6 separate regions of the Homo sapiens genome follow, and all the other regions are linked to region 1. Evidence: promoter capture Hi-C in 16 types of primary human blood cells and fetal thymus (Javierre and others, 2016). All regions are on one chromosome and are shown on one strand. The core of a region is centred on a gene start or on the middle of the fragment in contact, and the rest is flanking DNA. Distances in the headings are between cores, read along the strand shown. Region 1 holds the start of DNAJB2 (DnaJ heat shock protein family (Hsp40) member B2). Region 2 overlaps WNT6 (Wnt family member 6). Region 3 overlaps LINC01494 (long intergenic non-protein coding RNA 1494). Region 4 overlaps LINC01494 (long intergenic non-protein coding RNA 1494). Region 5 has its middle 5.0 kb from the start of CDK5R2. Region 6 overlaps CFAP65 (cilia and flagella associated protein 65).

The links. The method cuts DNA at HindIII sites, captures the fragments that hold promoters and counts their contacts. A CHiCAGO score of 5 or more calls a contact.
Region 2: a contact is called between a fragment that was not itself captured here and the fragment with the promoter of DNAJB2 in region 1, in 5 of 17 cell types (activated CD4 T cells, total CD8 T cells, naive B cells and 2 more). The highest score is 6.7, in activated CD4 T cells.
Region 3: a fragment that was not itself captured here is called in contact with the fragment with the promoter of DNAJB2 in region 1 in 6 of 17 cell types (total B cells, naive CD4 T cells, naive B cells and 3 more); the score reaches 8.3 in total B cells.
Region 4: a fragment that was not itself captured here is called in contact with the fragment with the promoter of DNAJB2 in region 1 in 1 of 17 cell types (M0 macrophages); the score reaches 5.1 in M0 macrophages.
Region 5: a contact is called between a fragment that was not itself captured here and the fragment with the promoter of DNAJB2 in region 1, in 1 of 17 cell types (M2 macrophages). The highest score is 5.9, in M2 macrophages.
Region 6: a contact is called between a fragment that was not itself captured here and the fragment with the promoter of DNAJB2 in region 1, in 8 of 17 cell types (M2 macrophages, naive CD4 T cells, total B cells and 5 more). The highest score is 8.5, in M2 macrophages.

What each region holds. Positions count from the first base shown.
Region 1 is chr2:219,275,506-219,280,615 of GRCh38, forward strand. DNAJB2 (DnaJ heat shock protein family (Hsp40) member B2) reads left to right here and starts at 3,861. Exons shown (of 9, transcript NM_006736.6): 1 at 3,861-4,013; 2 at 4,293-4,393; 3 at 5,073-5,110. The coding sequence starts at 4,329. RefSeq lists an enhancer at 1,981-2,685 and silencers at 2,262-2,464, 3,706-4,185. The HindIII fragment of the contact is 26,435 bases long and covers 1-5,110 here.
Region 2 is chr2:218,870,519-218,875,628 of GRCh38, forward strand. WNT6 (Wnt family member 6) reads left to right here. Exons shown (of 4, transcript NM_006522.4): 2 at 509-729; 3 at 967-1,301; 4 at 2,866-3,715. The coding sequence ends at 3,327. It also overlaps a transcript of WNT10A not described here. Among named protein-coding and RNA genes, the nearest start is that of WNT10A, 7.8 kb to the right of the region's middle. RefSeq lists a silencer at 989-1,058 and an enhancer at 1,137-2,083. The HindIII fragment of the contact is 2,323 bases long and covers 1,644-3,966 here.
Region 3 is chr2:218,901,624-218,906,733 of GRCh38, forward strand. The region is part of intron 4 of LINC01494 (long intergenic non-protein coding RNA 1494); the gene reads right to left. Among named protein-coding and RNA genes, the nearest start is that of WNT10A, 23 kb to the left of the region's middle. The HindIII fragment of the contact is 1,258 bases long and covers 2,295-3,552 here.
Region 4 is chr2:218,919,037-218,924,146 of GRCh38, forward strand. LINC01494 (long intergenic non-protein coding RNA 1494) reads right to left here. Exons shown (of 5, transcript NR_110238.1): 3 at 2,654-2,724. It overlaps LOC124906119 (a long non-coding RNA gene), which reads left to right. Exons shown (of 2, transcript XR_007088090.1): 2 at 1,525-1,688. Among named protein-coding and RNA genes, the nearest start is that of LINC01494, 9.0 kb to the right of the region's middle. The HindIII fragment of the contact is 1,408 bases long and covers 1,619-3,026 here.
Region 5 is chr2:218,952,066-218,957,175 of GRCh38, forward strand. It overlaps the pseudogene KRT8P30. Among named protein-coding and RNA genes, the nearest start is that of CDK5R2, 5.0 kb to the right of the region's middle. The HindIII fragment of the contact is 2,281 bases long and covers 933-3,213 here.
Region 6 is chr2:219,010,969-219,016,078 of GRCh38, forward strand. It overlaps CFAP65 (cilia and flagella associated protein 65), which reads right to left. Exons shown (of 35, transcript NM_194302.4): 22 at 2,900-3,076; 23 at 2,551-2,617; 24 at 2,291-2,401; 25 at 1-28. CFAP65-AS1 (CFAP65 antisense RNA 1) reads left to right here. Exons shown (of 3, transcript NR_046086.1): 3 at 2,934-4,754. Among named protein-coding and RNA genes, the nearest start is that of CFAP65-AS1, 11 kb to the left of the region's middle. The HindIII fragment of the contact is 682 bases long and covers 1,038-1,719 here.

The DNA of each region.
Region 1 (5,110 bases), core at 2,611-5,110:
AGCTGGGATTACACGTGCCTACCACCATGCCAGCTAATTTTTGTATTTTTAGTAGAGACAGGGTTTCACCATGTTGGCCAGGCTGGTCTCAAACTCCTGACCTCAGGTGATCCTCCAGACTTCAGGTGATCCTCCCGCCTCGGCCTCCCAAAGTGCTGGGATTATAGGCCTGAGCCATTGAGCCCAGCCTATGTTTTAAATAATTTTGTGCATGAAACAGTTTGTGTATATAAGGTCAGGTATGGAATTTTCCACTTGTGGCATCATGTCAGGTACTCAAAAAGTTTTGAATTTTTGAACATTTCACATTTTGGGTTTTTGGAGTAGGGATGCTCCATCTGTACTACCATGCTTGTATGCACATTTAGTATACACTTTGTTCTACACCTTGTTTTTTCAGTTAATAATAAATCTGGAAGATGGTCCATATGAATACTGTTAGCTATGCCTCATTCTATTTGGTCACAATATAATATTCCATCGTATAGCATACCAACACTTGTTTTACCAGTCTGCTATTAACGGGTATTTAGATTGTTTCCAATCTTTTGCTATTAAAAAGAATGCTGCAACCCTTGTATGTATTTTTTTTGCACATATATATGACCATACATTCTTAGAATTGAGATTTCTGGGTCAAAGATTATGCATTTTAAATCTTGCTCTCTTTAAAAGTCACACCAGGCCGGGCACGGCGGCTCACGCCTGCAATCCCAGCTACTTGGGAGGCTGAGGCAGGAGAACTGCTTGAACCCGGGAGGCAGAGGTTGCCGTGAGCCAAGATTGCACCATTGCACTCCAGCCTGGGCAATAAGAGTGAAACTCTGCCTCAAAAAAAAAAAAAAAAAAAAAGTCACATCAAATTACCCACCCTCCCACTACCAATCTATAAGAATGCCTGTGCCCTCAGCCTTGCCCATACAATGTATTCAACTTTTTTCTTTTTTTTGTCTTTGTCAATCATCCAATAAGTGAAACAAAGTATTTTGTTAGGGCCATGTGCCCGGGTGCAGTGGCTCTGGCCTATAGTCCCAGCACTTTGGGAGGCTGAGGCAGGAGGATCATCTGAGGCCAGGAGTTTGAGACCAGTCTGGCCAACATGGTGAAACCCCATCTCTACAAAAAATACAAAAATTAGCCAGGGGTGGTGGCACATGCCTGTAATCCCAGCTACTTGGGAGGCTGAGGCAGGGGAATTGCTTGAACCTGGGAGGTTGCAGTGAGCCAAGATAGTGCCACTGCACTGGAGCCTGGATGACAGAGCAAGACTCCATCTCAAAAAACAAAACCCCAAAGTATTTTGTTGTAGCTTTATTATTATTATTCTTTTAAAAATTATTATTATTTGAGATGGAGTTTCACTCTTGTTGCCCAGGCTGGAGTGCAATGGCACGATCTTGGCTCACTGCAACCTCCGCCTCCCGGGTTCAAGTGATTTTCCCGTCTCAGCCTGCCGAGTAGCTGGGATTACAGGCATGTGCCACCACGCCTGGCTACTTTTTGTATTTTTGGTAGAGACAGGGTTTCACCATATTGGCCAGGCTGATCTGAAACTCCTGACCTCAGGTGATCTACCCGCCTTGGCCTCCCAAAGTGCTGGGATTACAGGCATGAGCCACCATGCCTGGCCTGTCGTAGCTTTAGTTTACAGTTTTTTTGTGAATGAGATTGAGCATCTTTTCATTTGTTTAAAAGCCAGTATTTCCTCTTCTGTGAGCTGCCTGTCCCTTTGTCCATTTAAAAATGTCATTGTCTTTCATTAGTTGGCATTTCTTTGTGGACAAAGGAAATTAAACCTTTGTCTGCTAGATGTGCTCCATATAATTTCCCTCAGTTGTCATTTGTCTATGTCCTATCCCCTTGAGCACAGAGATTGGAATTTAAACTTTTTTATATTCTTTTTCTTAATATAACAAGACATACACGGTAGGTGCTAGACAAATGTCTGTTGGCACAGCAGAGTAAGAAGAAAAAGGCAGAGATCTGGAAAATTTGGAGTGACTTAACCCAACCACTCCTTCCTCTTATACCAAGTCTAACCCTTAGTCTTTGTGTCAGTCAGGACTCTTATAAACAGCAGAAGCTAACTGGCAAATTGTTTCAAGTCCCCTGCCCCCAACAATTATAGAGATATCGGATAGCACACAGAATCAATGCAAGGGCCAGCAAACAAGGGTCAGCAATCAGACAGGCACCTAGGGAAGCTGGGCAGCCAGTACCACAGTCAAGGTTGGGCACAGGACAGCCTGTGTAGGAGACTCCTGTCCCCTCCACCCTCCGCAGTGATCCTCCTACTCTCGTCCCTCACCTGCGGCAGTAGCGCTGACACTTCCTCCTCCAGACACTAGAGGCCGCTGTTGGCCCCATCGCCTCCACCGCCGCCGCAGAAATGAATTCCTAAACCAGCCTTGCTATTCCGTGACTTGCTCCAGATTCAAAGTCCCAGTTGGAGCATCCGATTGGCGGAGCTCATGTCTTCTGCCTGCAACCCCAGAGCCGAGTCAGGGAGAGCAAGCATTGGGGCTTTGTGGCAAATGGTGGCCTGCTTTCCATTAGGGCCCTTGCGATGGGAATTCCCCAAATGTAGGCAGGAGGTTCTGATGGTGGGCAGCCAGGAAACCAGGACACTCACACCACCTTCTTCTCTCACGTCCGCCTCAAACCCTTCTCGTTGGCGAAGTATTCCTGGGTCCCCCAGCCTAAAGCACTTTTCTGGACTCACATAACCATTATTGCTTGAGCCAATCACGATGCCAGCAGGACCGCAGTAACACCTAATTCGTACCATGTCTCATTTGACTTTCAAACAACCCTAGGCACTACCTATATTTAGTGAGAAAAAAAGAGTGCTCAGAGATTTTCCCAAGTCTCACAGTAATGCCAGGTTGTACTCTGTTTCCAAAGCCTCGGGTTTCCCAGCGGGCTACACTGATGGGCTGGTATCTTATCAAGTTCAAGCTCTGCAAAGGCAGGGCTTGGGCCACATTCTTCTTTATACGGCCTGGCAGCATCTTGAATGCAGAAAAATGCTCAGCTAACGCCTTTGGATTGGCCTGGATGGGATCAAGCAGGAGCCAGTTCTGGAAGGTTTCCTAACTCTCCAATGAGGCCTGAACCCAGGGAGCATTTTGAAGTGGAATAGGCCTACTCAGGATCAGTTTGGGAAGACTTGAACCTGGGGAATTCCGTTGTACGGCCCCCTTTACCTCACCTCCCCCAAATGTGTCAAAACTGTCAACAAGAGGTTTGCAGGTGTTCATTATTTATTCATCCCACGGGTAGTTTTGAACCCCTACGACTGCTCTAATAGACCAGTGAGAAAAAACACACAATTCCTGTCCTGTGAAATCGACATTCTAGTGGGGGAGGTGAATGGTAATAAAAAATAATCAAACCAATAAATGCTAATTTGTGGCTCTAACAAGCCTGATGAAGGAAATGCCACGAGATGCTGTAAAAGGCAGTTCTGACCTACTCAGGAAAGCCAGGGCAGCCTGCTGGGGGACCTGGGGCTGGAGCTGGGAGCTGAAGAAGGGGGAGGAGTTAGAACCGTGGTGGGGGGAGGGAGGGAAGAGTCTGAGTCCTCGAGGTGGGTGAGTAAGCATGGATCATCGCTCATGTTTATAAGAAAGTGACAGAGGAACCTGGGGGCCGAGCGGCTTGTTTGTGGGCTGCCCCAGCCTCCGTGCGAGCGCTTCTCGCTTGGATGGAGGCGGGGCCGCAGTCTCCCAGGTCCCAGCTGGGGCTGACGTCGTCCTGGTGTGTGCCCAAAATAGCCGGCTCCGCCCTCTTCTCCCGGCAGCCCCTGCAGGCCCCCACCCCCCCAGGGGACAGGCGGAGCCGGCCTTCTCCCCGTCTCTAGTAGTTTCCGCACCGCTGACGCATGCCTGCGCGCACAGCTGGGCCGGGCGCGTCCTACGCAGCAGCCGCGAGCCGGGCTGCGGGTGCCAGACGGTTCCCGGCGGGGGGCAGGGGCGGGGCGCCGCAGGAGGCCGGGACTCCTGGCGGAGGAGGTGCGGCCGGGGGCCCGGGTCAGGCTGGGGGCCCTGGATCGGACTGCTGGAGTTGGGGGGCCCCGATAGGGCTCCTGGGCCTGGGCGTCGAGATAGCTCTTGGCCCCGGCCTGCGGGGGCAGATAAGGCTGCCGGAGGGAGCCTAGTCACCGGCCGCAAGCAGAGCCCGGTGTGCTCCGCTTCCAACTGGGAGCGCCTTCCGCCACCCGGGGAGGGGGACTGCTGCAGCCACAGGGTGGGGCTCTTGGTTCTTTCCGCCTGACTCCTTCTCTTCTGCAGCCCCAAGGAGGCCCGCCTGACGACTGACCAGTTGCCATGGCATCCTACTACGAGATCCTAGACGTGCCGCGAAGTGCGTCCGCTGATGACATCAAGAAGGCGTAAGTGCCTCCGTATGCAACAGAAGACCTCTCACCCTCCACCCGCCACCACCATGGGGCACTTCAGAGTGACACCTGTAGGTGTCTGAGGGAACCAGGTCGTTAGAAAGCACTGGGGTGCTTCTTCCGAGTGACACCTGCAGGGAGGAAAGAGACCCCTGGTAGAGTACAAGGAGAACGTCCAGAGAGTGAAGTAGTTAGTTCCTCTGGGAGCTGCACTGTGTTATGGGTTGTTCTCCAGTTGATCTTCCCCTCCTCCTCCTCCTCCTCCTCCTTTCCCCTCCCCTCCCCCTTCCCCCTAGATTTGGGCATTCTCAGGCTGCAGTGCAAAGATGCAGTGCAAAGAGGCTCTATGAGGAGGAGGGGCCGGTGTCCCTGTACTCTTCGAGGCCACATGTGCCCCAACCTTTGCAGCCCCAGTCCAGTGAGCCCTAGGGAGGGGCTAGGGACCCTGGCATTGTATCCGCTTGTACATGTGGTCCCAGCACTGGTGGCGGAGGAGAGAGGGTGGAACTTGATGAAAATATCACAGCAGCGGCAGCCCTAGCAGCTGGGGTGGACTGGGACCCGGGGGTGAAAGGACAGTGATAGGCTAATGGGAAAACAGGTCGTTCGGTTCCTGGGTGGGAAGTGCCTGCATTTGTCCCCCGACTCTCTCCTCTGCACCCACTTTCTGCAGGTATCGGCGCAAGGCTCTCCAGTGGCACCCAGACAAAA
Region 2 (5,110 bases), core at 1,555-4,054, 410 kb before region 1:
TCTTGCCTTTCATCCGGGCTGTTCAGCTGACACATATCCAGCTTGTGGTCCACTAGGACCATATCATTCCTTGATACTGCTTACTTTTCTTTGGTGTCTCTTGACGACACATGAATTTCCTTGACGGCCTTCTTGATCTTTCTTCTGTTATTTCTTTTCCTTGTCACCCTTTTGGGCTAGAAGTTTGAGTTTTAACTTTGACTTACCTGATGCCAGCTGCCTTCACCTTGAGTAAAATTTCTATAAGAATTTATTTACAAAGATGTGTGCAGGAAGATAAGATTGAATCTTTGCTCTGTAGCAATTATCAGACTAGACTCTAGTTAGAGGGGACACAGACATGGACTAGCAGGAGAGCCAGACAGGACAATCTCAAGCTCAGTTTGGAGGTAGGGTGGGAGGGCATGTCACAGCTCCCGCTGCGGGCTGAGTGGGGCTGGTCCTCCTCCCTTCCACCCCAAGCCCTTTTTTGGGTTACACCCCTGACCTGCTATTCTCTGCTTTCCAGGGCTGTGGGCAGCCCCTTGGTTATGGACCCTACCAGCATCTGCAGGAAGGCACGGCGGCTGGCCGGGCGGCAGGCCGAGTTGTGCCAGGCTGAGCCGGAAGTGGTGGCAGAGCTAGCTCGGGGCGCCCGGCTCGGGGTGCGAGAGTGCCAGTTCCAGTTCCGCTTCCGCCGCTGGAATTGCTCCAGCCACAGCAAGGCCTTTGGACGCATCCTGCAACAGGGTCAGTGTGGGGAGGGGGCGGAAGTGGGGCTGCTTTCTCCCTGCTGTGGGACCCGAGGAGAGGAGAACTGGTTCGCTGAAGTTGCCTGAGCCCCACTTCCCCCTCACATGTGTCTGGGCACCCTGCAAGGACCCTGCCTCCCAGGCCCCTGGGGCAGCCCTCCCGCCGCAGGTTTCAGGTCCCAGGCCCCAGCTGACCGCCCCAGCCCGCGCTGATTGCACCTGTCTGCATTCACAGACATTCGGGAGACGGCCTTCGTGTTCGCCATCACTGCGGCCGGCGCCAGCCACGCCGTCACGCAGGCCTGTTCTATGGGCGAGCTGCTGCAGTGCGGCTGCCAGGCGCCCCGCGGGCGGGCCCCTCCCCGGCCCTCCGGCCTGCCCGGCACCCCCGGACCCCCTGGCCCCGCGGGCTCCCCGGAAGGCAGCGCCGCCTGGGAGTGGGGAGGCTGCGGCGACGACGTGGACTTCGGGGACGAGAAGTCGAGGCTCTTTATGGACGCGCGGCACAAGCGGGGACGCGGAGACATCCGCGCGTTGGTGCAACTGCACAACAACGAGGCGGGCAGGCTGGTGCGTACGGGCAGGATGGAGTGAGTGTGTGCGGAAATGTGAGTGTGCGCGCAGGAGTGTGCTTGAGGAAGTGTTGGCAGGAGTGAGGGTGTGTAGGTGGAGGGGGGCGTTAATGTGTGGGGGAGTGCGCACGGGCGGAAAGATGGGCTGCAAGCATGGATGGACATGTGGGAGGAGAGGTGTCCAGCCTCCAAGAAGGAGTCACGTGGGGGTCTGAGAAGGCCAGATGCTGGACGGTACAGCGGGCAGAATGGGGGAAGGGACACTCAGGGAATAGGACTGAGGGTCTTTAGTGACCCCAGGCAGAGAGGGCACAGCTTCAAGACAGGACAGGTGAAGCAAAGCTTGCAGTGGGTAGGAGGTCTGGATGCCTAGGCAGGGGCAGGAGAATAAAACAAAGGTGGGGATGAAAGACAGGATAGAAGCTAATGCAAGGTCTGGGGTTTTGGTACAGGGAAGCCAGGGGGAGTGAGAGAGGCCTAGAAAGAGTTAGAACAGGTCTGAGGGGCAATGGAAAAGAGCGAAGGACAAGGAACCAATCCTAGTGGAGGTTGGAGGGAGTCAGGTGGAGGCCAGGACAGCTGTGACCAATTCTGGGCATTTGCCAACTGGCTGCCCAGCAACACCAGCCCAGGTCTCACCTGCCCAGAGCCATGGCAGCCTCTCCTCTCCCCTCTGTAACGAGGAGAGCCCCAGGAGCTCTCATTCAGGGGCAAGAAGGTTGTCTGGGTGTGATGGTTCCAGGAGGGGGCAGGGCAGACTCAGGAGGTGGGAGTGGGACACATGGTCAGGTTAGCCCCTGGACTCTGAGCTTCCAGAAATGATTTTCTTGGGTCTTCTGAACCATCAGCGCTTGGTGGGTTTGGGAATCTTAGACCCTGCTTCAGACAGTGACTAGGGGAGAGGCCGCCTGGGTTCCACTCTCAGTACTGCATTCCCAGCGGGCCCTCCTGCACCCCATGCCTCCGTTCTAGCGTTCTCCAGGGACATCGCCATACATACCGTGTCCTCTAGGGTTCGGGCCTGAGGCATCGGGCAGGGGGAGGAGGGGGCCTGAAGAGGAATGTCCGGACAGGCCCACATACCTGCCGAGAGGGTTGGGGAGGGGTGACGGAGACAGATGCCCAGGAGGCTGGCTCTGCGTCTGTGCTCAGCCCGGCCTGGGGGCCGTGAGGGGTAGGAATGAGGGGGCCAGGTAGGCAGGAGAGCTAGACTTCGACAGCTGCCACCTCTCCCCTCCTCCAAAGAGAATCTCACCCCTGCTGTCCATTCTGCTTTCTCCCCCACCCCCTGCCTTTGGACCCTGGAATCTCTGCGCTGCATATTGTCCCCGTCTCCCCTCTTCGTCATCATCATATTCCTCCATCCTCACCATTCCTCCTGCTCCTCCCCTCCGAGTTGTCCTTTCCTTGATTTCCTCCCCCTGAACTTGCGGTCTCCTTTTGTCTGCATTTTCCTCTCTTCCTTTCACCTCCCATTCCCAATCTTATTTTCTGTCCATCCGCTGGGCCCTTCCCTGCACCCCCTACCTGTCCACATGCGTCCGCCCCTCTGCCTCCCGCAGGCCGTGCGGAGCCACACGCGCACCGAGTGCAAATGCCACGGGCTGTCGGGATCATGCGCGCTGCGCACCTGCTGGCAGAAGCTGCCTCCATTTCGCGAGGTGGGCGCGCGGCTGCTGGAGCGCTTCCACGGCGCCTCACGCGTCATGGGCACCAACGACGGCAAGGCCCTGCTGCCCGCCGTCCGCACGCTCAAGCCGCCGGGCCGAGCGGACCTCCTCTACGCCGCCGATTCGCCCGACTTCTGCGCCCCCAACCGACGCACCGGCTCCCCCGGCACGCGCGGTCGCGCCTGCAATAGCAGCGCCCCGGACCTCAGCGGCTGCGACCTGCTGTGCTGCGGCCGCGGGCACCGCCAGGAGAGCGTGCAGCTCGAAGAGAACTGCCTGTGCCGCTTCCACTGGTGCTGCGTAGTACAGTGCCACCGCTGCCGTGTGCGCAAGGAGCTCAGCCTCTGCCTGTGACCCGCCGCCCGGCCGCTAGACTGACTTCGCGCAGCGGTGGCTCGCACCTGTGGGACCTCAGGGCACCGGCACCGGGCGCCTCTCGCCGCTCGAGCCCAGCCTCTCCCTGCCAAAGCCCAACTCCCAGGGCTCTGGAAATGGTGAGGCGAGGGGCTTGAGAGGAACGCCCACCCACGAAGGCCCAGGGCGCCAGACGGCCCCGAAAAGGCGCTCGGGGAGCGTTTAAAGGACACTGTACAGGCCCTCCCTCCCCTTGGCCTCTAGGAGGAAACAGTTTTTTAGACTGGAAAAAAGCCAGTCTAAAGGCCTCTGGATACTGGGCTCCCCAGAACTGCTGGCCACAGGATGGTGGGTGAGGTTAGTATCAATAAAGATATTTAAACCACCAGGGCTGGACCCACAGTTTTGGGGGAGACTGATCTTCAGGCTGCCAGGCTCCAGAAGAAGGTGGTTTTGCTAGAACTAGCACCTCAGGGGCTATCACCTGGGTCCCTATCTCCCGACCAGGTTGGCCTCTCCTGGAAACTCGCTATCTCCCCTTGGCATTCTTCTTGTTCACTCCTGTCACACATCTAGGTCCTGGATCTGCAAGCTGGAGAAGAACTAGCAATTCCTCTTTAAAGGGACAGGGGCATCAGAAGCTTCTGATGCATACCTCTTGACACCCAACAATATTTCCTTCCTTCTGGTTCCTCTTGGGAAGCTACTGGTGAAAGTGAGGAGACAGAGGGCAGTTCTGGATTCTCCAGAGCTGAAGCTTGAGCTCTCATCTTCCTCCAGAGAGAAAGAGGGATGGCATAGCCCAACTTCCAGGACCCAGAGCCTCCAACTTTCCTCCAGTCCAAATACTGCAATGGGGAATGACTCCCCCATCAAGGTATGGAGGACAAAAAATGAGCTTTGGGGTCAGACACTCTGGGTTTGCAGTTGGTGCTGCTGCTTAGAACTTTACAACAGAGGCCAAATTAGCCTCATTTTCTTTATACAAAGGGATTTCGCTCTGTTTCAGTTATCCATTGCTACATAACAAACAACCCCAAAGTAATCACTTCTCAGGATTTTTGAGGTCATGATTGGTCAGAACTCAGCTTGGTAGGTCTGCTCTATATAGCAGAACCATTGGCTTGGGTTCACATGGCTGCATTCTGCTGGAGTCTCCACTGTGCTGTGCTGGACAGTCCAAGAAGCCCCCACTCACATGTCTAGGGCACAGAGCTTCTCTTGTGCTCTCATTCTCTCCATGTGGCTAACCTGGGCTTCCTCGCTGCATGTTAGCCTTAGGATAGTCAGACTTCTTACATAAGACTGACTTTCTTTTTTTTTTTTTTTTTTTTTTTTTTTTTTTTTTTTTTTTTTTTTTTGAGATGGAGTCTCGCTCTGTTGCCCAGGCTGGAGTGCAGTGACGTGATCTCAGCTCACTGCAAGTTCTGCCTCCTGGGTTCATGCCATTCTCCTGCCTCAGCCTCCCAAGTAGCTGGGACTACAGGCGCCCACCACCACACTTGGATACGTTTTTTTGTATTTTTAGTAGAGATGGGGTTTCACCGTGTTAGCCAAGACGGTCTTGATCTCCTGACCTCGTGATCCGCCTGCCTTGGCCTCCCAAAGTGCTGGGATTACAGGCGTGAGCCACCGCGCCCGGCCAAAACTGACTTTCAAAGGAAAGTGTACCAAACTTGAAGGCAGAAGCTGTAAGTATCTTCTCAAGTCCAGCTTTGGAAGTTACATAGCATCACTGTAACTGTGTATTGGTCAAAACAGTTCACAGAGCCAGGCAAAATTC
Region 3 (5,110 bases), core at 1,674-4,173, 370 kb before region 1:
TGGAAACAGTTTCACTATTCTTGGAGCTTTATTTATTTATTTATTTATTTTAAGACAGGGTCTCACTTTTTGCCCAGCCTGGAGTGCATTTATTGCAAACACAGCTCACTGCACCCTTGACTTCCTGGGTTCAAGAAATTCTCCTGCCTTAGTCCCCCAAGTAGCTGAGACTACAGGTGTGCACCATCACCCCTGGCTAATTTTTGTATTTTTTATAGAGACGGGTGTTTCACTATGCTGCCCAGGCTGGTCTTGAACTCCTGAGCTCTAGTGATCCACTTGCCTTGGCCTCCCAAAGCGCTGGGATTACAGACGTGAGCCACTGCGCCTGGCCATTCTTGGAGCTTTAGATGTACTTCTTAATCCTCTCTATTCAGTAAATGGCAAATGCTTTTCCAGCTATCCCCGTTAAAAAAAATCCTAGAGTCATCAAACCCATTGGCAGATCGTGTTAGTTCCCCATCAGTTTCTATTTAAAGTCTGATCACATGTCACTTCCTCCATCATTCCTTCATGGTCCACGCTATCATCATCTCTTGGCTTAATTGACTACAACTGTCTCCTAGTTGCTCCCCTTGATTCTGCCATTACACAACCCCAGTCTATTCTATACCCAGCAGCCCAAGTGATCCTTCTAAAGTGTCAGTCATGTGATGTGCCTCCTCTGCTCAAAAGTCTCTAAAGTCTTTCTATCTTACACAGGACAAGAGCCAAAGTACTAAGTACAAATTAGCCGGGCGTGGTGATGTGCACCTGTAGTCCCAGCTACTCGGGAGGCTGAGGCAGGAGAATCTCTTGAACCCGGGAGGGGGAGGTTGCAGTGAGCTGAGACTTACAGGTCACCATGACTTACAAGGCGTGATAGGATTGGCTCCCTGCTACCTCTTTCACCTCATTTTCTCCTCCAACTCTCTCTCATCCACTTTACTTTAGCCACACTGGCCTCCTGCAAATTCCTTGAGCAATCCAAACACTGTCTTGCCTCAGGGCCTTTGCACCTCCTCCCTCTGCCTGAAATCGGTTTCCTCCAGATAACCGCATGAATGTTGTCTTCCTTCATTCAGGACCTCACTGAAATATCTCCTTATGAGAGGGGCCTTGTATGGTGCCTCATGCCTGGAATCCCAGTGCTTTGAAAGACTGAGGCGGGAGGATCACTTGATCCCAGGAGTTCAAGTCTACATTGAGCTATGATCAAGCCACTGTACTCCAGCCTGATTGACAGGGCAAGACCCTGTCTCAAAAAAGAAAAAAAAACCCACACAAAATAAACATAGAAAAGAGGAGCCTTGGCAGAACATCCTGTATAACATAGCAAACTTCCTCTTACCTTTACCTTGCTTTATTTTTCTTCATAGTATAGATCACATATTTGACCATATTTGTGTATTTCTTTATGCTCTGCTTCCACACTCTATAATGGAAACTCTACGAGAACTGAGACTCTGTTGTTTTTTGCTGTATTTCTAATGCCAAGAATGGTATTAAGTACATAGTAGGAACTCAATAAATATAAGTGAATGAATGAATAAATAAATAAATGTCTACAGAAATCACTACTAACTTCTGTCTTCAGGCCCAAACTTCCTTCCTATGATCTTTCTTTTTTTTTCTTTTGAGACAGAGTCTCGCTCTGTCACCCAAGCTGGAATGCAGTGGTGTGATTTCAGCTTACTGCAACCTCTGCCTCCTGGGTTCAAGCAATTCTCCTGCCTTAGCCTCCTGAGTAGCTGGTATTACAGGTGTGCACCACCATGCCGGGCTAATTTTTGTATTTTAGTAGAGACAGGGTTTCGCCATGTTGGCCAGGCAGGTCTTGAATTCCTGACCTCAGGTGATCCACCCATCTTGGCCTCCCAAAGTGCTGGGATTACAGGTGTGAGCCACCACACCTGGTCTCCTGTGATCTTTCTTGAAGTTCCAGCTGCCAGCTAGACATGTTTTAATGTATGCCTGTGATACCACCCACTCAAGCTTTATTTTATTTTATTTTATTTTTGAGACAGAGTCCTGCTCTGTCACCCAGGCTGGAGTGCAATGGCGCCATCTCAGCTCACAGCAACCTCTGACTCCTCTGCCTCCCAGGTTCAAGCAATTCTCCTGCATCAGCCTCCTGAGTGGCTGGGATTACAGGTGGCCTGCCACCACGCCCAGCTCATTTTTTGTATTTTTAGTAGAGATGGGGTTTCACTATGTTGGCCAGGCTGGTCTTGAACTTCTGACCCCAAGTGATCCACCTACCTCAGCCTCCCAAAGTGCTGGGATTACAGGCGTGAGCCACCATGCCCGGCTCAAGCTTTATTAATGCAGATTCATTATCTTATGTATGTATTTGCTAAGGGCTGAGACTTTGTTTTGTTTACTGTTCTTTTCTCAATGCCTAGCACAGTGCTTGGCATAGACCAGGCATTTAATATTTGTTGAATAAGTGAATGAATGACTTTCCCCTCCAAACCAGTTCTCCTTAACTTGCTTGTTTCTCTTTGTCACATCATCATTTTCTTAGTCACTGAACCTCAAAACTGGTGTAAACTTGGACTCTCACCTTCTCTTCTCCTTTCTATATTCAATCAGTGGCCAAGATCTGCTTATTCTTCCACTTCATTCACATGGTCAATATCCTAGTTCACCACACACCTCAAACATCACAACGACCTTCCAACTAGCCTCTGTCATTCCTCTTTCTTCCTCTTCAATCCATCCCTATCCTATTGTTCTGTTTTTCTCTCCCACGAAGTGCTCTGATCATGTCATTTCCTCTGACTAAAGCTCTCAATGGATCTTTGTACCAATTTGGGTTCTTAATTGCAAACAACAGAAACAGACTCTGGTTCACTTAGTAGAAGAGGAATTTACTGGGATGACATCAGGGAACTCAAAGAATTGACAGGAAGCCTCAAGAATCAGGCTCAGGAAGCAAGCAGGAGCCAAGAGAAGCTAGGCAGCTAGAACTTTAGCTAAATCCTGTCCCAAGTGCAGCCTGATTAAGGGGCTTGGGGGCTGCTTCCCACATGGCTACCACCACCCTGAGCACTTGCTGCTGCCACCTCTGGGATGAATTATAAACAGTCCTCTTCCTCCTTGGGTCACTTGTTGAAGATTTAGAGTCCTGACTGGGAGCATTGATTTGGCTGTGATCTTCCTGCTAGGGGCCAGGTGAGCAAGTATCTGACTTCTCACTAAGACTCACATTAGGGAGGCTCCACCAACATATGAAGGGGGCTCAGATGCTGGGCAGCTAAAGACTCCAGTGTGTATCCATATGCAGGTTCCTGAGCATTGAAGCCCTCCACCATATGCCACAAACGATCATCTCCAGTTTTTTCTCACTTCCACACCATGTTCCACTGAAGCATGACTGTGTGCAGTTCCCTGAGCAGTCCTTTCCTGCCTCAGCCCCTGTAATAGCTGGGCCCCAAAGGTGGTCCGCCTTGAATCATGCTTCACACCTGTGTATTGTCCCCTCCCCTTGAAAGGGCCAGTCCATGCTTCCTTTTCACTGAGTGTGCTGTGGAAGCGAAGCTGCATGACTGCTGAAGAGAGGGAATAGGAAGCTTTGCAGTTTTTGCCTCAGTCGCTCGGAATGTTCACTCTGGGGCAAGCCAATCACCGTGTATGAGGTCTGTCTACCCAGAGACTACCATGCTATGAGGAACCCGAAACAAGCCACATGGGAAGGCTGTATAGAGAGAGTAATGCCTGGGCAGGCCCCTTCAGTTCCAGCCAATTCAGATGAGGTGCCAGACATGTGACTTTAAAAAGTCATCTTGGGGCTGGGCTCAGTGGTTCACACCTGTAATCTCAGCACTTTGGGAGGCCGAGGCAGGCGGATAACTTGAGGCCAGGAGTTCAAGACCATCCTGGCCAACATGGCGAAACCCCATCTCTACTAAAAATACAAAAAATTAGCCAGACATAGTGGCACATGCCTGTAGTCCCAGCTTCTCGGGAGGCTGAGGCATGAGAATCACTTGAACCTGGGAGGTGGAGGTTGCAGTGAGTGAGATTGCGCCACTACAGTCCAGCCTGGGTGACGAAGTGAGGCTGTGTCTTCAAAAATAAATAAATAAATAAATAAATTTTTAAAAAGTCATCTTGGATATCCAGCCGAGTTGAGCCTTCAGATGACTCCAGCCTTAGCCACCATCTAACTGAACTGCTTGAGAGACCCCACGTGAGAACTGCCCAGCTGACTGTAGTCAACCCACAGGACTGTGGGATGTAAATGGTTATTTTTAAGCCACTGAATTTTGGAGCGGTTTGTTACTCAGTAATAGAAAATGGAAACAGCCCCTCTGTGGTCCATGTTTCCCTCTCTCTGGAATGTACCCCAACTGTCCTGCCTTAGCTCCATGTCCACTCATATCTGCTCTTGTCAAAATCCTTCCAGTGAGCATGGCACAGTGCAGAGGAAAGAGCCAGGCTTTGGGGTCAGCCTGTGCGGCGGGAGGGATTGAATCCTAGTTTAGTCTCTCACTATCCCTGTGACCTAAGGCAAAGTCATTAAGTTCTCTGGACCTCAGTTTCTGTATCTGCTATATTGAAATAAAAACACTCATCTGCTGAAGTTGTTTTGAGGACTAGATGTAATATATGTAAAGTACCTAGACGTCTCACCCATTTTAGTCTCACTGAATGGTGGCCTTTAGCAGACACTTAGCCTTCTAGCCTGGCATCAAATGGCACTTCTGAGGTCTAATTCTCATCACTTATAAATTATATGGTTTTGGAAAATTCCTTAAATTTCTCTGAGCCTTACTCTCCTCATATGTAACATACCTAGACCCTTAAGCCATGTCCCTTAACCGGCATGGCATCAGAAATCCTTGGAAGAGGAAGTAAACCATGGCCACAGTTGGGGTTCCCCAGTGTCTGGTGGGCTGGGGGTCTGTAGTGGATGGCAGACTGCAGGGGAGGAACAACAGAGGCCGGAGAGCTCATCACCCTGAGTGAGAAAAAGGTTTCACTGGACAGGGAAGGGGTCCGCCGAACAGGGCAGAGGGAGGAGTGCTATTTGGAATGTTGTGAGGCTGGGCATGACCACTGGGGCTTGGTGCACCTCTACCCTCACTCCCTCAGGCCTCAGGGCCTTCCTGGTGGAAAGGGAAAC
Region 4 (5,110 bases), core at 1,073-3,572, 360 kb before region 1:
TGTCAGTTATTACTTTTATGTTTTGAGGCTGTTTTTAATTGCATATATAGTTAGGATTTTATATTTTCCTATTAAAATTTCCCTTTCGTTATTATGAAATGTCTCTCATTATCTCTAGCAATACTTTTTTCCTTATGTTTATGATACCAGTACAGATACACCAGCTTCCTTTTGGTGTTTTCATGACTTATTTTTTTTCTTTTTTTAAAAAAATCGCTTTCTTTTCTTTCTTTCTTTCTTTCTTTCTTTCTTTCTTTCTTTCTTTCTTTCTTTCTTTCTCTTTCTTTTTCTTTCTTTCTTCCTTCCTTCCTTTCCTTTCTTTCCTTCTTTCTCTTTCTCTCTTCCCTTTCCCCTTCCCCTTCCCCTTCCCTTCCCTTCCCCTCCCCTTCCTCTCCCCTCCCCTCCCCTTCCTTCTTTTCTTTCTTTCCAGAGTCTCGCTCTGTTGCCCAGGCTGGAGTGCAGTGGCACAATCTCAGCTCACTGCAACCTCCACCTCCCGGGTTCAAGTGTTTCTCATGCCTCAGCCTCCCAAGTAGCTAGGATAACAGGCGTGTGCCACCACACCCGGCTAATTTTCGTATACTTAGTAGAGATGGGGTTTCACCATGTTGGCCAGGCTGGTCTTGAACTCTTAACCTCAGGTGATCCACCCACCTCAGCCTCCCAAAGTGCTAGGATTACAGGCATGAGCCACCACACCTGGCCAAAAATCCCTTTATTTCCAACCTTTATGCATCCTTATGTTTAAGGTGTGTCTTCTATAACAGCATATAGTTGTTTTTTTTTTCTTGTCCAGTCTGAAAATCTTTGCCTTTAATTGATTTATATTATGGTAATTACTGATACTGTAGGGTTTAAAGTATACCATTTTGCCATTTTTTTCCATTTTTCACATCTGTTTTTTGTTTCTTTTTACCTCTTTCTTGCCTTCTTTTGGATCAATCAATATTTTCCTAATTATTTCATTTTCATCCTCTATAAATTAGTAGTCACGTGTTTGCTATTATTGTTATTTTATTACCCACATATTATAGCATGCATCCTTGGCTTAATTAGGTCACCCTTGAATTAGTACTTTCACCCTTTTCTAAATAACTCTAGGGACCTTATGACACTTTAATTCATTTTAGCATTCTCCTGGCTTTCATGTTATTGTTGTCATGTATTTTTTTTTTTTTTGAGACAGAGTCTTGCTATGTTGCCCAGGCTGGCCTTCAACTCCTAGGGACAATGGATCTGCCCTCCTCAGCCTCCCGAGTAGCTGAGATTACAGGAATGTGCCACCACACCTGGCTACAGCAAGGCTTTTGACAAAAATGGTTGAAAGAATTCAAAACTGAGGATCCTAGTGCTGAGGGTGGGATATTTTGTGTTATTGGTCAGTAAGAATGTCTCTTACTTGAGATATGAATCCTGAAGGTGGTAAGAGTTGATTTATTTAGACAGAGTTAATTTTAATTAGTGAAAACTGAAGAACTGACTTGTATTTTGGTCTGACGTATGATTGTTTCAACTTTGCTGCAGTAGCACCTACAAGAGGACCAACATTCTCCAGGAAATTCTGTCCTTTAAAACCATGAGATGAATAATCTTGGTCTGGAAGATATTCATAGAAAGAAGCTTAGAATGTTTGATTTTTGAGCATGAATTAACTGTACAGTCATCAATTAAATAAGCTGATCCACTGAGTAATTGTTGAGATGATCCTTCTGGATGCTGAATAATGCTAGCCTAGAATGGGGATTTGACATTGATATATTCTTTCCTATTAACAAATCCAGTTTTCTTTCTTCCTCCCATCCTCCCTCCTTCTTTCTTTCTTCCTTTCTTTTCCTTTCATTTGCCTTCCTTTCCTTCCTTCCCTTCCCTTTCACAATATTTTACTTTAAAAAAATTATGAAATCCATCATGTACACTTCAATGTGTTAAATATATATGTACATTTTAAAGATTAATAGTCCAGTGAACATCTGTGTACCCACTACTCAGGGTGAGAAACAAATATAACGATGGTCTCGTGTGTTCCTTGTGGGCTCTTCCCCAATTCTTCCTTCTCCACAGAGACCACTTCCACCTGCCTTCTGTGGTAGTTATCTTATAATCCTCTTCATAATTTCTTTCTTTTTTTTTTTTTTTGAGATGGAGTCTCGCTCTGTCGCCCAGGCTGGAGTGCAGTGGCATGATCTCAGCTCACTGCAAGCTCTGCCTCCTGGGTTCATGCCATTCTCCTGCCTCAGCCTCCCGAGTAGCTGGGACTACAGGCACCCGCCACCACGCCTGGCTAATATTTGTATTTTTAGTAGAGACTGGGTTTCACCGCATTAGCCAGGATGGTCTCGATCTCCTGACCTCGTGATCCGCCCGCCTTGGCCTCCCAAAGTGCTGGGATTACAGGCGTGAGCCACCGTGCCTGGCCCCTCTTCATAATTTCTAACACCTCTGAATTCTTCTACTGTATATATATATATATATATACACACACACACACACACACACAATTATATATATTTATATATACATTATATATATACATTATAATGTGTATATATATAATGCATATATATAGTAGAAGAATTTACTTTCTATATAGTAAATTTTGTGTATACACACACATACACATACAAAACTGGATCAGTAAGGAATTTACACTTACTTCTTTAGATGAAGACCCCCAGGAGAGGGTAAGATGACAGAGTCTCTGGGTCAGAAGTGACCTCATTTTCCCTGAAAGTTTACAGGGCAAAGTCACAAGTGAGTCTGTTATGTTTGGGGTGTTTGTCCTCTTCAAATCTCATGTTGAAATGTAACCGTCACTGTTAGAGGTGAGACCTGGTGGGAGGTGATTTGATCATGGGGGTGGATCCTTCACAAATGGCTTAGCACCATTTCTTGGTGATGTTCTCTCCCAGTTAGTTCACATGAGAACTGGTTGTTTAAAAGAATCTGAGACCTCCCCCTTCTCTCTTTTGCGCCCTCTCTTCACCATGTGATGTGCTGGCTCCCCTTCACTTTGTGCCATGATTGAAAGCTTCCTGAGGCCTTCACAAGAAGCTGATGCTGGCACCATGCTTCCTGTACAGCCTGCAGAAACGTGAGCCAAATCAAAGCCTGTTTTCTTTATAAATTACCTAGTCTCAGGTATTTCTTTATAGCAGCACAAGAATGGACTAACACAGAGTCTGTGGGAAATAGGACTCAAAAAATTGGTGGCAGGGTGAAGTGTCACCCAAATACTGGCCATCAGGCAGGAATATGGTCAGGGGGAGTAGGCTGCTCTTATTTTCTCACTCAAAGTTCCCACAGCCTACTTTCAGCTCTCGGGAATGGGTGAGAACAAAACATTTTTGTGGGAGTGAAATAAATATCTTTAGATAATCCACGTAGGAGGGTAAGGAGGGAATAACAGGAACTTCATCAACACATGATATATTAATCCATTTTAACTATAAAGAACTACCTGAGACTGAGTAATTTATGAAGAAAAGAGGTTTAATTTCCTCACATTTCCACAGGCTTAACAGGAAGCATGGCTGGTAACTTACAATTGTGGTGGAGGGGTTAGGGGAATCAAGCATGTCTTACCGTGGTGGAGCAGGAAAGAGCGAGAGTGAAGAGGGAAGTGCCACACACTTTTGAACAACCAGATCTTGTGAGAACTCACTCTCACAAGAATAGCAAGCGGGAACTCCACCCCAATGATTCAATCACCTGCCACCAGGCCCCTCCCCCCACATGTGGGGATTACAATTCGAAATGAGATTTGGGTGAGGACAGAGCCAAACCATATCATTCCACCCCTGGCCCCTCCAAAATCTCATGTCATCACATTTCAAAGCCAAGCATGCCTTCCCAACAGTCCCCCAAAGTCTTAACTCATTCCAGCATTAACTCAAAAGTCTAAGTCCAAAGTCTCATCTGAGACAAGGCAAGCCCCTTCCGCCTATGAGCCTGTAAAATAAAAAACAAGTTAGTAACTTCCAAGATACAATGGAAATACAGGAATTAGGTAAATGCTCCCATTGCAAAGGGGGAAATTGGCCAAAACCAAGGGACTACAGGTCCTATGCAAGATCAAAACCTGGCAAGGAAGTCATTAAATCTTTTTTTTTTTTTTTTTTTTTGGAGACAGAGTCTTGCTCTGTCACCCAGGGTGGAGTGCAGTGGTGCTATCTTGGCTCACTGCAACCTCCACCTTCTGGGTTCAAGCAATTCTCCTGCCTTAGCCTCCCGAGTAGCTGGGACTACAGGCACATGCTGACATGCCCAGCTAATTTTTTGTATTTTATTAGAGACAGGGTTTCACCGTGTTACCCAGGCTGTTCTTGAACTCCTGAACTCAGGCAATCCACCCATCTCGGCCTCCCAAAGTACTAGGATTACAGGCGTGAGCCACTGTCCCTGGCTGGAAGTCATTAAATCTTAAACCTCCAAAATAATCTCCTTTGACTCCATGTCTCACATCCAGGGCATGCTGATGCAAGAGGTGGGCTCCCAAGGCCTTGGGAAGTTTTGCCTCTGTGGCTCTGCAGGGTACAGCCCCCATAGCTGCTTTCATGGGCTGGCATTGAGTGCCTGTGGCTTTTCTGGGCACATGGTGCAAGCTGTCAGTGGATGTACCATTCTGGGGTTTGGAGGACGGTGGCCCTCTTCTCATGGTTCCACTAGGCAGTGCCCTGGTGGGGACTCTGTGTCAGGGCTCCAATCCCACACTTCCCCGCTGCACTGCCCATGAGGGCTCTGCCCCTGCAGCTGACTTCTGCCTGGACATCCAGGCATTTCCATACATCCTCTGAAATCTAGGTGGAGATTCCAAAACCTCAACTCTTGCCATCTGCACACCTGCAGGCCCAACATCACATGGAAGCTGCCAAAGACTTGGGGCTTGCAATCTCTGAAGCAATGGCCCGAGCTGTACCTTGGCCCCTTTTAGCCATGGCTAGAGCTGGAGTGGCTGGGATCCAGGGCATCACGTCCCAAGGCTGCACAGAGCTGCTGGGGCCTGGGCCTGGGCCATGAAACCATTTTTTCCTTCTAGGTCTCTGGGCTTGTGATGGGAGGGGCTGCCTCAGTGGTCTCTGAAATGCCCAGGAGACATTTTCCCCATTGTCTT
Region 5 (5,110 bases), core at 823-3,322, 330 kb before region 1:
TCTACTAAAAATACAATAAGTTAGCCAGGCATGGTGGCACATACCTGTAATCCCAGCTACTCGGGAGGCCGAGGCAGGAGAATCGCTAGAACCTGGGAAGTGGAGGTTGCGGTGAGCCGAGATCACGCCATAGCATTCCAGCCTGGCCAACAAGAGCGAAACTACGTCTCAAAAAAAAAAAAAAAAAATGGATTCTAACTCTGTGTGCATATGAATTTAGGACAAGCTGGAGATGGATTAGCTGTGATGGTGGAAGGTGGAGGGGGGCGGGCAGGATTAGCCGAGTCATCAAATCCCATTATCTGTAACTGGCCCTAGGACACATCATTTTATTGCTATTTCTCACTATTTTTCATATCTCTGCCACCTATGCTGTACATTCTTTGAAGGCTGGAGCCCTACCTCACACCTTTTTGTGTTCCCACCACCTAGCCCAGTACTGTGTAGGCTACAGTTTCTCAAATAGTATCTGCTCATGTGGTTTAATAATCTTATTGAACATTTTCCTCAAAGCCCTTGAAAAGCAGAATTGACTCTCCATAGAGTCTCTGGAGCTTTGGGGAGACCATGGGGTGTGGAATGAGTAGCCAGAGTACAGCTCCCAGAAAGCACGGTCAGGACTTGGGGCCAGCATGGAACCTGGCCCAGAATTAATATTCAGAGCTTCAGAAAATTAAAGTGGCCTGCAACAGGACCAGAAAAGGGGACCAGTGCCTAATATGCTGTCGGTCTTTATGACCCTAGGAAGCAAATCAAACCACCCCCAGGAACAGTCTGAGTAGCAGTGGGTATGAGCACAGTATCTGAGAGGAAAGCACAGATATAAATTTGGGTTTCAGAAACCAAACAAAAAGAAATGATAGTACCACCCTGGCCCTTTAATGAAAAATGTTCTAATGAGAAAAAAAATGCTAATGGCACGGGTCAGGCAAAGCTTTCCTCCTGCTCTGTAAAAATAATGATGACAGTATAATTTGTTAACAATTAACATTTATGAACACCATGCACATGTGATATACAAGCATTGTTGAGCATTGCATGATTAAATAAAATCTTACAACCTTATGATGATAGTCCATTTTTTTTTTTTTTTTTTGCCAGTTGGTAGAACTAGCTGAAGTTTTATTTTGGGGGGAAAAAACGGAATTGTTTTGTAGCTGGAGATATGGGCAAAGGAGGTGTCCCACGCAGTAAACTCCCCTGCAGGTGGGCTGAGGGCTAGGGCTGAGCCTCAGGTGGGTCTCCCATTCCCTGTGCTCCCCTGCACAGTGGCCTCCCTCCCGGACTCTGGGGCAGCCACAGAAGGGGCAGGCTGGGAGGGGCTGCCACAGCTATTCACTTGGGCAGGACGTCAGAGGACTCGGACACCAGCTTCCCATTTCCCATTGTGGGTCTCGATCTCCCCAACCATGGCCCTGGTGGAGCTGGTGCAGCTGAAGGAGCTGGAGCCGGCGCCAGAGCCAAAGCTGGAGCCCAGGCTGTAGCTGAGGCCAAGGGCTTGTGAGGCCCCCATAGGCTGAGCTCAGACCACCTGCATAGCCACTGGTGGTCTTCTTATGGATACTCACGTTCTGCATCCCAGACTCCAGACGGCTCTCCTCGCCCTCCAGCAGCTTCCTGTAGGTGGCGATCTCGATGTCCAGGGCCAGCTTCTGGTACTCACCCAGCTGCGTGCCATGTCCTGCTTGGCCCGCTGCATGGCGGCCTCCAGCTCAGACAGCTTGGTGTTGGCATCTTTAATGGCCAGCTCCCCCCACTGCTCGGCATCTGCGATGGCGGCCTCCAGGGAAGCCCCCTGGCCTTTGAGGCCCTCAGTCTCAGCCTGGAGCCTGCTGATGTTCTGGTTCATCTCGGAGATCTGTCTTTGCACAACGCAGGTCATCCCCATGCTTCCCAGCCAGCGTCTGCAGCTCCTCATACTTGATCTGGTACGTGCTTTCAGCCTCAGCCCGACTGTGGATGGTGATCTCTTCCTACTGCACCTTGTATGGTCCACTTTTATAGACCTCAGAAGAATTAAGAAACTTGCCCCAAGGGCCCCAGGTCATAAGTGGAGGGGCTGGATTTGAACATAGACCGAATGACCTCAGAACCCACATAGGAGACCCTGCACTGTCTGTCCCTCTTAAGGTGACAAACATTTTTTGTGCGATTTGTGAATGAGTGAGATTTCTTCTTTGCCCCTCCCTCTACTGATAAGGGCATCTGAGAAGGCTGGGCGAGGTGGCTCATGCCTGTAATCCTAACACTTTGAGGCTGAGGTGGGCAGACTGCTTGAGCCCAGGAGTTAGAGACCAGCCTGGGCAGCATGGTGAAACTCCATCTCTACAAAAAGTACAAAAATTAGCCAGGCCTGGTGATGCATGCCTGTGGTCCCAACTACTTGGGAGGCTGAGGTGGGAGGATCCCTTGAGCCCAGGAATGAGTGAAGATCATGCCACTGCACTCTAGCCTGGGCAAAAGAGTGAGACTTTGTCTCAAAAAAAAAAAGATGTGGGGAGAGATCTGGGTCAGTGAGCCCCTTGTTCTGGCCCAAAGGAGGCCTGGACTCCAGGGTTCAGCCGCTTTCAGGAGGCAGCTTCTGAAACTCTAGGGCCCCTGAGTGATTCCTGTAAATCAAGATAAGAAAGGCCTTCATGGTGGTGAATACAGTCTGGGGACTGAGTACCATGCAGGGGTTGCTGGGGGCAGATGAAAGAAGAGGGCCTGGGGGCAGAGAGGAGAGGGCTGTGTTCCACTCTAGGGAGCATCTGAGCTAGAGTTCTCGAAGGCCCTTCTTTCCCCGCAGAGCCTCCAGTGAGGTTTGCACACCTTCCTGGGGCTATGCCTGATAGGCAGAGGAAACCTTCCATCTAGGGCACAAGGGTGGGAAGGCTGGACTCTCAGAGGGTCTGTGTTCATCGATGAAATCAATATAGAGGAGGAAGGGACAGGATAAGGGATATGGAACCAGATGAAGACCCAGTCACAGTGGCAGTTTCTGGCAGCCACCTGCCTGGTTGAGATGGAAACGCTGATTCCAGCTCCAGCCCCCAGACAGGCTAAGAATATCCCAGAAAAGCAACAGCTACCACCCCCACCCTTCTTGATCTGCTCCTACATCTGTAGTGCTATGCTGGGCGCCAGCGGGGCCTGGGAGGAGAAGGAGTGGGGGACGAAAGGGAGGAGGCAAAAAGGGGGCTTGGTGGAGGCAGAAGGTGAACCAAGACTTAAAGCTTCTGGTGAGTGCTGGGAGGACTGGACAGAGAGAGCTGTTCTCAGGGGACAGTAAAGGAGGTGAAGGCAGGAGCCAGGGAGTTGGAGGGAGATCAGGACAGAGGATGGGAAAGGAAGAAATGGCCCCCCTTCCATCAAGGAAAGCAGCAGAGCTTAAGGCAGGGAAAAGGAGTCACCAGCTCACCCCTGTCTTCTCTGTCCCCTTCACCCTGGGCCCTCCAGCATCTCAGCATTGGTCCCTTCTCTCCCCACCCCAGAGCATCACATTCCTCATCTGTGCTCCCAGCCCTATTCACTGTTCAAAAGAAACTATATTTGGGCTCCTTAATTAAGTCCTTCTAGCAAACAGCCTGCGAAATGGGAAGACATGAGAATTTGGGTCTCCCTCCTGACAGCTAGCAGCACCTCCTCTGTCAATTCCTCTCTTCTCTCTGCTTACCCCCTCCCCCCTCCACTGTTATCTGTAGAGGGGTTCTGCTCCCCTCCTTTGTTTTAGCCACCCACTTCTCCCCTGGGGTAAGGTCCTCAGGAGAGGGAGAGAAGTCTGGGCTCGTGCATACCCACCCCCTCTGCACACCTCAGGAGCTGAGACTGATGGGCAAGGGAGTTGGGGGTGCCAGGGTGGGGGGGGGGGCAGCAGGATCCAGGCACTCAGATGCCCAGGCTGGGTCTCCATCCTGGCTGTTTTAAGAACCTGTGTCATCATTAGCCTCCTTGTAGGGGCCCCTACAGGGAGGTGCAATGACCTTGGTTTCTGGGGCCTTTGATGTTTACTGGGGATATCCTGGGCCTCAGCCATCTTGCCCTCCTCTTCTTTGCCTTCTCACCTTTCAGGGGCCCCTCTAAAGCTTGGAGGGACCTAGGGAGATTTACATTGCTGAGAGCCTAAGCTCCCCTCCCCTTCATCTCCTGGGGTGAACCGCAGAAGTGCAGGCCTCACATGGATGCTGTGCACACAAAGACTGAGCCCATCAGACAGAAACAGATTAGGGAGAAGCAGACAGGGCTGGAGCTGGAGAGTGAAACAGATTCACAGGACAGATTTTGTTTAGAATCAGAACTGTGGAGTTGAAAGAGGCTTTAGGAATCCTCCTCTAGTCCAATTCCTAAAATGTTATCTTGTTCTTTTAATATTCATTTTTATCTGATAATAAGAGTCAAATCCGTAGAACCCTTGCATTTTAATATGATGAAACCGAGTCCCAGAGAGCTGAAATTACTTCCCCAAGGTCATACAACTGGCAGCCATAGACTAGGACTCCCGTGTCCTGCCTCCCAGACTATGGCTTCTCAGAAGGGAGATAAGAAGAGCAAAAGGGAGGCAAAGTGTGAGCAGCATTGTCCGGAGATGTTCTCTTAAAAGATGGGGCCCACCTGCCCAGGTTGGGTGAGTGAGAGGAGCATCTCTGGTGAATCTGATGGGATGCACTCATCAATAAGGCCAGATCCTATCCAGGCTAAAACCTCAGTCTAGGCCCTCCAGTTCTTGGTCTGGGCCTAGAGTATTTGCCTTAAAGAACCTTCAGGAATAACCAGTAATCTGAATAGGCACTGTTCTAGGTAACCTACAGAGCAATGAAGACAGACAAGGAGACTGGCCTCAGGGGCTTTCCCATCTAAGGAAGTCTGACACAACCAGCACTGCCCCAGAGGAACATAAGGGAGATGGAGAGATGAGAAGCAACACAGAGATACTATTATAATGAAGATAGATGAATCTCAGAATATGAACCCAAACATAACCTAACCAGAAGAGTACACTTGCAAATGTGGGAAAGCCACCAACCTTCTATGAAGCCCACCTCCTCCATGAAGTCTTTCTGGTTTCACTAGGCTTATTCCCCTTGGGCTCCCCCTGCAGAAACATAATAACCCTCCCTCTCAGCTCTCAATG
Region 6 (5,110 bases), core at 129-2,628, 270 kb before region 1:
CTGAGCCACCATTATACAGCTCATAAATCTGCAGGGGGCAGGAATAGGAAAATTGCCACATCAGCTCAGCACTGCAAATCAGAAAGCCTGGGATGCTGTGCCCACTGTGGGAGGGCAGGCTGATCTCCATGATGTCACCCTTTGAGTCTGTGAGCTCCCGTGTGGCTTGATCACTCGAGAAGTATGTAACTGTATGGTCAGCCGGTGATATTTTAGGATAATCTGTAATCTTATTTGTAAAGGAGTAGCTTATTTTATTTGTCTTCAGTTTAACTTCATCAAGTTTTTTTTCTTTTTCTTTCTTTTTTTTTTTTTTTTTTTTTTGAGACAAGGTCTCACTTTGTCACCCAGGCTGGAATACAGTGGCATAATCATGGCTCACTGCCGCCTTGACCTCCTGGGCTCAAGCAATCTTTCTACCTCAGCCTGCCAAGTAGCTAGGACCACAGGCATGCACTACCACACACAGCTGCTTCAAAAATATATATATTTTTTAGAGATGGGGTTCTCACTGTGTTGGCCAGGCTGGTCTTGAACTCGTGGCCTCAAGCAATCCTCCCACCTTGGCCTCCCATATTACTGGGATTACAGGCTTGAGCCACTGCGCCTGGCCAAGGGAGTTCTGCTTAAAGGCAAGTAAGGGGGCGGAAAAGTCTGAGGGACTAAAGACCAACTCCAAAGGTTGGGAATCATAGAATGTCCTAGAAGAAACCAGAGATCTTCTGATCCAATCCTTCCTTTTAGAGATGAGAAAATTGAAGCCAGAGAGAATAGAGTCCATCTGGATTCAGTCCCAGCCCCTTTTCCCCTTTCTGAGCACTCACTCCTGAGCATGCTGACTCTATTTCTCTAGCCTGGACCACCCTTTGAGCTCCAGACCTGGTACTATGGGTTAAATGCTTGTGTCCCCACAAAATCCATATGTTGAAACCTAATCCTCAATACAATAGTATTAAGAGATGATCAGGAGGTGATTCGGCCACAAGGGCGGAGCCCTCACAAGTGGGATTAGTGCCCTTATAAAAGAGGCCTGTGGAAGCTTGTTTGCTCCCTCCACCATGTGAGGACACAGCAAGAAGCCACTGAACCAGGAAGTGGGCCCCCACCAAACCTGCCCATGTCTTGATCTTGGGCTCCCCAGCCTTTTTAATTAAGATAAATTATAATAAATTAAATTACAATAAATTATAATAAATTTGTGGTCTTTATAAGCCACCCAATCTATGGTAACTTGTTTTAGCAGCCAGAATGGACTAAGACACTTGGTGTCCACCTTCTACCTGACAAGCCCTCTTGGTTGTCTCATTAGCATCTCAAACTTGGCCAGAACCAAACTCTTCATTCTAAAGCCTATTCCTGCTCCCAGTTTATCTCCTTTTAGCAAATGGCACTATGTATTCCCAGTAGCTCAAACCAGCTTCACTGTCACAGACCCTAGTGGGGCTGCTGGGAAGGCAGAGGGGTAGCGGGTGGGTATGGAAGTGAACAGAGTTGGGGATAGGAAACTCCCCTCTAGATCCAGGAAGCCCATTCCTTGGCCTCTAGGGTGAATGGCTGGAGGCCCCTGCTCAGAAACACATGGGCTTCTAAATGATTAGAAATTGCACAGCTGTGAAATGTTTGGGAAAATATTATGTCCCCCTCTTGGAGATTACCAATCTACATTTCCAGAGCAAGGAAACTGTATTGCCTTCAATCAGTAAAGAAAGAAAGGTCTAAAGCTTCCCAAGAATTCACATTCTAGTTCTTCACATTCCAGAAGGACATCCTTTTTGGAGCAGTGATTTTCAAATTGTGGCTAAGACCTACTGGTGAGCAGATCTAAATCAATGTTGTGGGTCATGCCCAGCATTTAAAAAATTGGACAGAATAGAACAAAAAAGAAAATATCAGTATACTTTGCATGTAGTAGTATAATTATCAATTTGCAGTAATTCTACTTTGGTTGTATGTTTATGTATATACTGGGGTGTAAGCATATATAACATCAAATATATTAGTATGGTTCATGGTCAAAGAAGTTTGAAGAACATTTTGCTAAAGGAAAAAAAAATCCTCATTTTTTAATTGGAACTGGGCCTGGCAAAGGGCTTAGCACCAGGAACTAGGACACTGCAGCCTCTCCCTTCAAGTCTCTCCCAGTTGCCCAGTCTGGGGGTTCAACCTGCTGGCCCAGCCCCTCAATGCTTCCAGAGGGCCATGTCTTTGTCACCCTCTCAAGGGCTGACACTCATACCTAGAGATCAACACTTAGGCCTTCTTGGTCAACAGGACAATGTGGACCACTGACCTGCCGTGGGGGTAGCGTGTCACCAATGGGAATGGGGATGAACTGGTGGGTAGTAGAGGTGAAGTGCACATACTTCTGCTCCGGCTTCACTGTCACACCTATGAAATTTAGCTGGAAATAAAAGTTCCCCCGGAGGAACTGACACAGCCAGTGGAGATCTGGACCCCAGTTCCCCAGGAGAACACAGCTCCCTGCTCCTGTCCAGCCAGCCCCCTCCTCCAGCCTGAAACTAGGGCAGGGCCAGTGTGCTGGGGCCTCACCAGGATCTCCCGGCCATGGGACACCTTGAAGAGCACTGGGAGGTGATCAGTACCGATGAACAGGTGGCTAGAAAGAAACAGATAAGTCTGGGAGTGAGTTCTGGAGCCCTGGTACAAGTAGGAGAGCAAATGGACATGACATTTCTGTGGCTTTGAGCTGGCCAGCCCCTGGGAGCAACTCGCCCTTGAGTTGGGATGGGGCAAGAAGGAAATTAGACCTCCTCTGCAGGTGAGAAGGTGGTCCTCCCAGGGAATGGCCATTTGGGGTGCCCTGGAGTCATACAATGAAATGCCCGGGGTAGGGGCCTCTATGACTGGAAGTGCAGGGGGTTTGGGGGGTGGGGAACACCTGTATTTTAACTCCACCATCTGCTCCTGCCCAGGACTCAGGCTCCCAGCCTTGGGGCTGATGGAGAAGAGGCAATTGTCCTGCACGCGCATCTGGTGGAGCTCAGTGGAATTCAACTCTGCTTGCTCTGCCCAGAGCTCCACGTCAATCCGCTGGTCACTTGGAAGGAGGAAGGCCCTGGGAGAGGGGTGCAAAGCCATACAAAGAAACTGGTCAGGCAGAACAGAGAGGCAGGGGCTCTGAGACCCTGATGGGCAGGTGGAGGCTTCTTCCATGACTCCCGCACTTCATGCACCCATTTGGCAAACTGTCCCATGTGTGCCTGAGCAAATGTGGCTGTTGTGGATTCTCGTTTCATAATGGCCCCAAAACCCAGGAACAGACTCTGGGCCACGGCGACTCAAGAAGTGAAGAGTGGGGCTCCCACTGTGGATGCCAGGAGTCAAGGTGTTGCTTGAATATGGGGGCCACTTTGAGCTGGCCATGAACCCTTCTGTGACAAAGCTCTTGGGAAAGGGCCATTTGGGACACCTAGGAAGGCTGGCAGCACCAACCAGCAGCCCCAGGGAGTGGGGTGTCCAGGCCAACTTGGGCACAGGGTGGAGAACAGATGCCCCAGCAGGGCTGGCACTCTTGAAACAGAAGCAAGGCTGTGCACAGAGTTAATGCCCCTGACATGCCTAGGACTGCGGTAAAGTAGATAATGCACCTTAAGTAGCCGACAAAACTAGTGACAAAGGGTCCTGAGGTCACAATCTGAAAGGAGAACCCATTTCACTCTCGGAGATGGCACAGAACTGGTTCCAGCTGCAAACCGGGTGGAGGATACGATAGGGAGCATCCAGAAAAGGAAAAGAAAGTGCCCAACACACACCTGAGAGAAAGCGCACAACGCACACCTGAGAGAAAGCACGCAACGCGCACCTGAGAGAAAGCACGCAACACACACCTGAGAGAAAGCACGCAACACACACCTGAAAGTGCGCAACACACACCCGAAGAGAATGCGCGCAACAAACACCTGAGAGGAAGTGTGCAACGCATACCTGAGAGCACGCAACACACACCTGAGGAGAATGCATGCAACACACACCTGAGAGGAAGCACGCAACACACACCTGAGGAGAATGCATGCAACACACACCTGAGAGAAAGCGCACAAAAGCAACCTGAGAGAAAATGCACAACACACACCCGAGGAGAATGCGCACAACACACACCTGAGAGGAAGCGTGCAACACACACCTGAGGAGAATGCACGCAACACACACCTGAGGAGAATGCGTGCAACACACACCTGAGGAGAACGCGTGCAACACACACCTGAGAGAAAGCACACAACACACACCTGAGGAGAATGCACACAACACACACTTGAGAGGAAGTGCACAACACACACCTGAGGAGAATGTGCGCAACACACACCTAAGGAGAACGCGTGCAACACACACCTGAGGAGAATGCACGCAGCACACACCTGACGGGAAGTGTGCAACACGCACCTGAAAGAAGGCACGCAACACACACCTGAGAGAAAGCACACAACGCACACCTGAGAGAAAGCGTGCAACACGGGCCTGGAAGCCTCAGTAGGAGTCAGGGAGGCCTAAGTCCAAACCCTCAGAAGGAACCAGTCTTAACTTTTTTCACATCTGAAGCATGAAGAATAGTAATATTCAACACTGGTAAGTTCAGAAAGAACAGACTCAAACATAGGTGGGTGGAGAGGGAACTGCTCAACCTCTTGGACGGAAGTTTGGCAGCTTATGCCCTTTGACCCAGAAGTGTCTGTTTGGGAAACCAATTCATAGGAATAAAAGCACATATGTGTGCATGCTTATGTGCACGCAACGCACACCTTTGTGTGGATGTCTATCACCACTTTCTTTGTAGTGGTCATGAAAAAAAAGCAGCTGGGAACAATTGGAGTTTCCAATAGAGGAGTGATTTAACGATTTAAAGTCCATCCATATTGTGGCATATTATACAGCTATTTAAAAGAATGCGTTAGATATATGTATTGATCTAAAGGAGATGTTATTGATATAATGCTGAGTGAAAGCATCATTATTCCTGAAAGTAACAGATATAGTATTGGGCCATTACTGTAAAAAAAAAGGAAAGAGAACCGCTCTGTAAATATGTGCGTGTCTGTATGTTGTGCAAATGCTGAGTGTGAAAGGCACATTCCGAATCCTCATCACCCTAGCA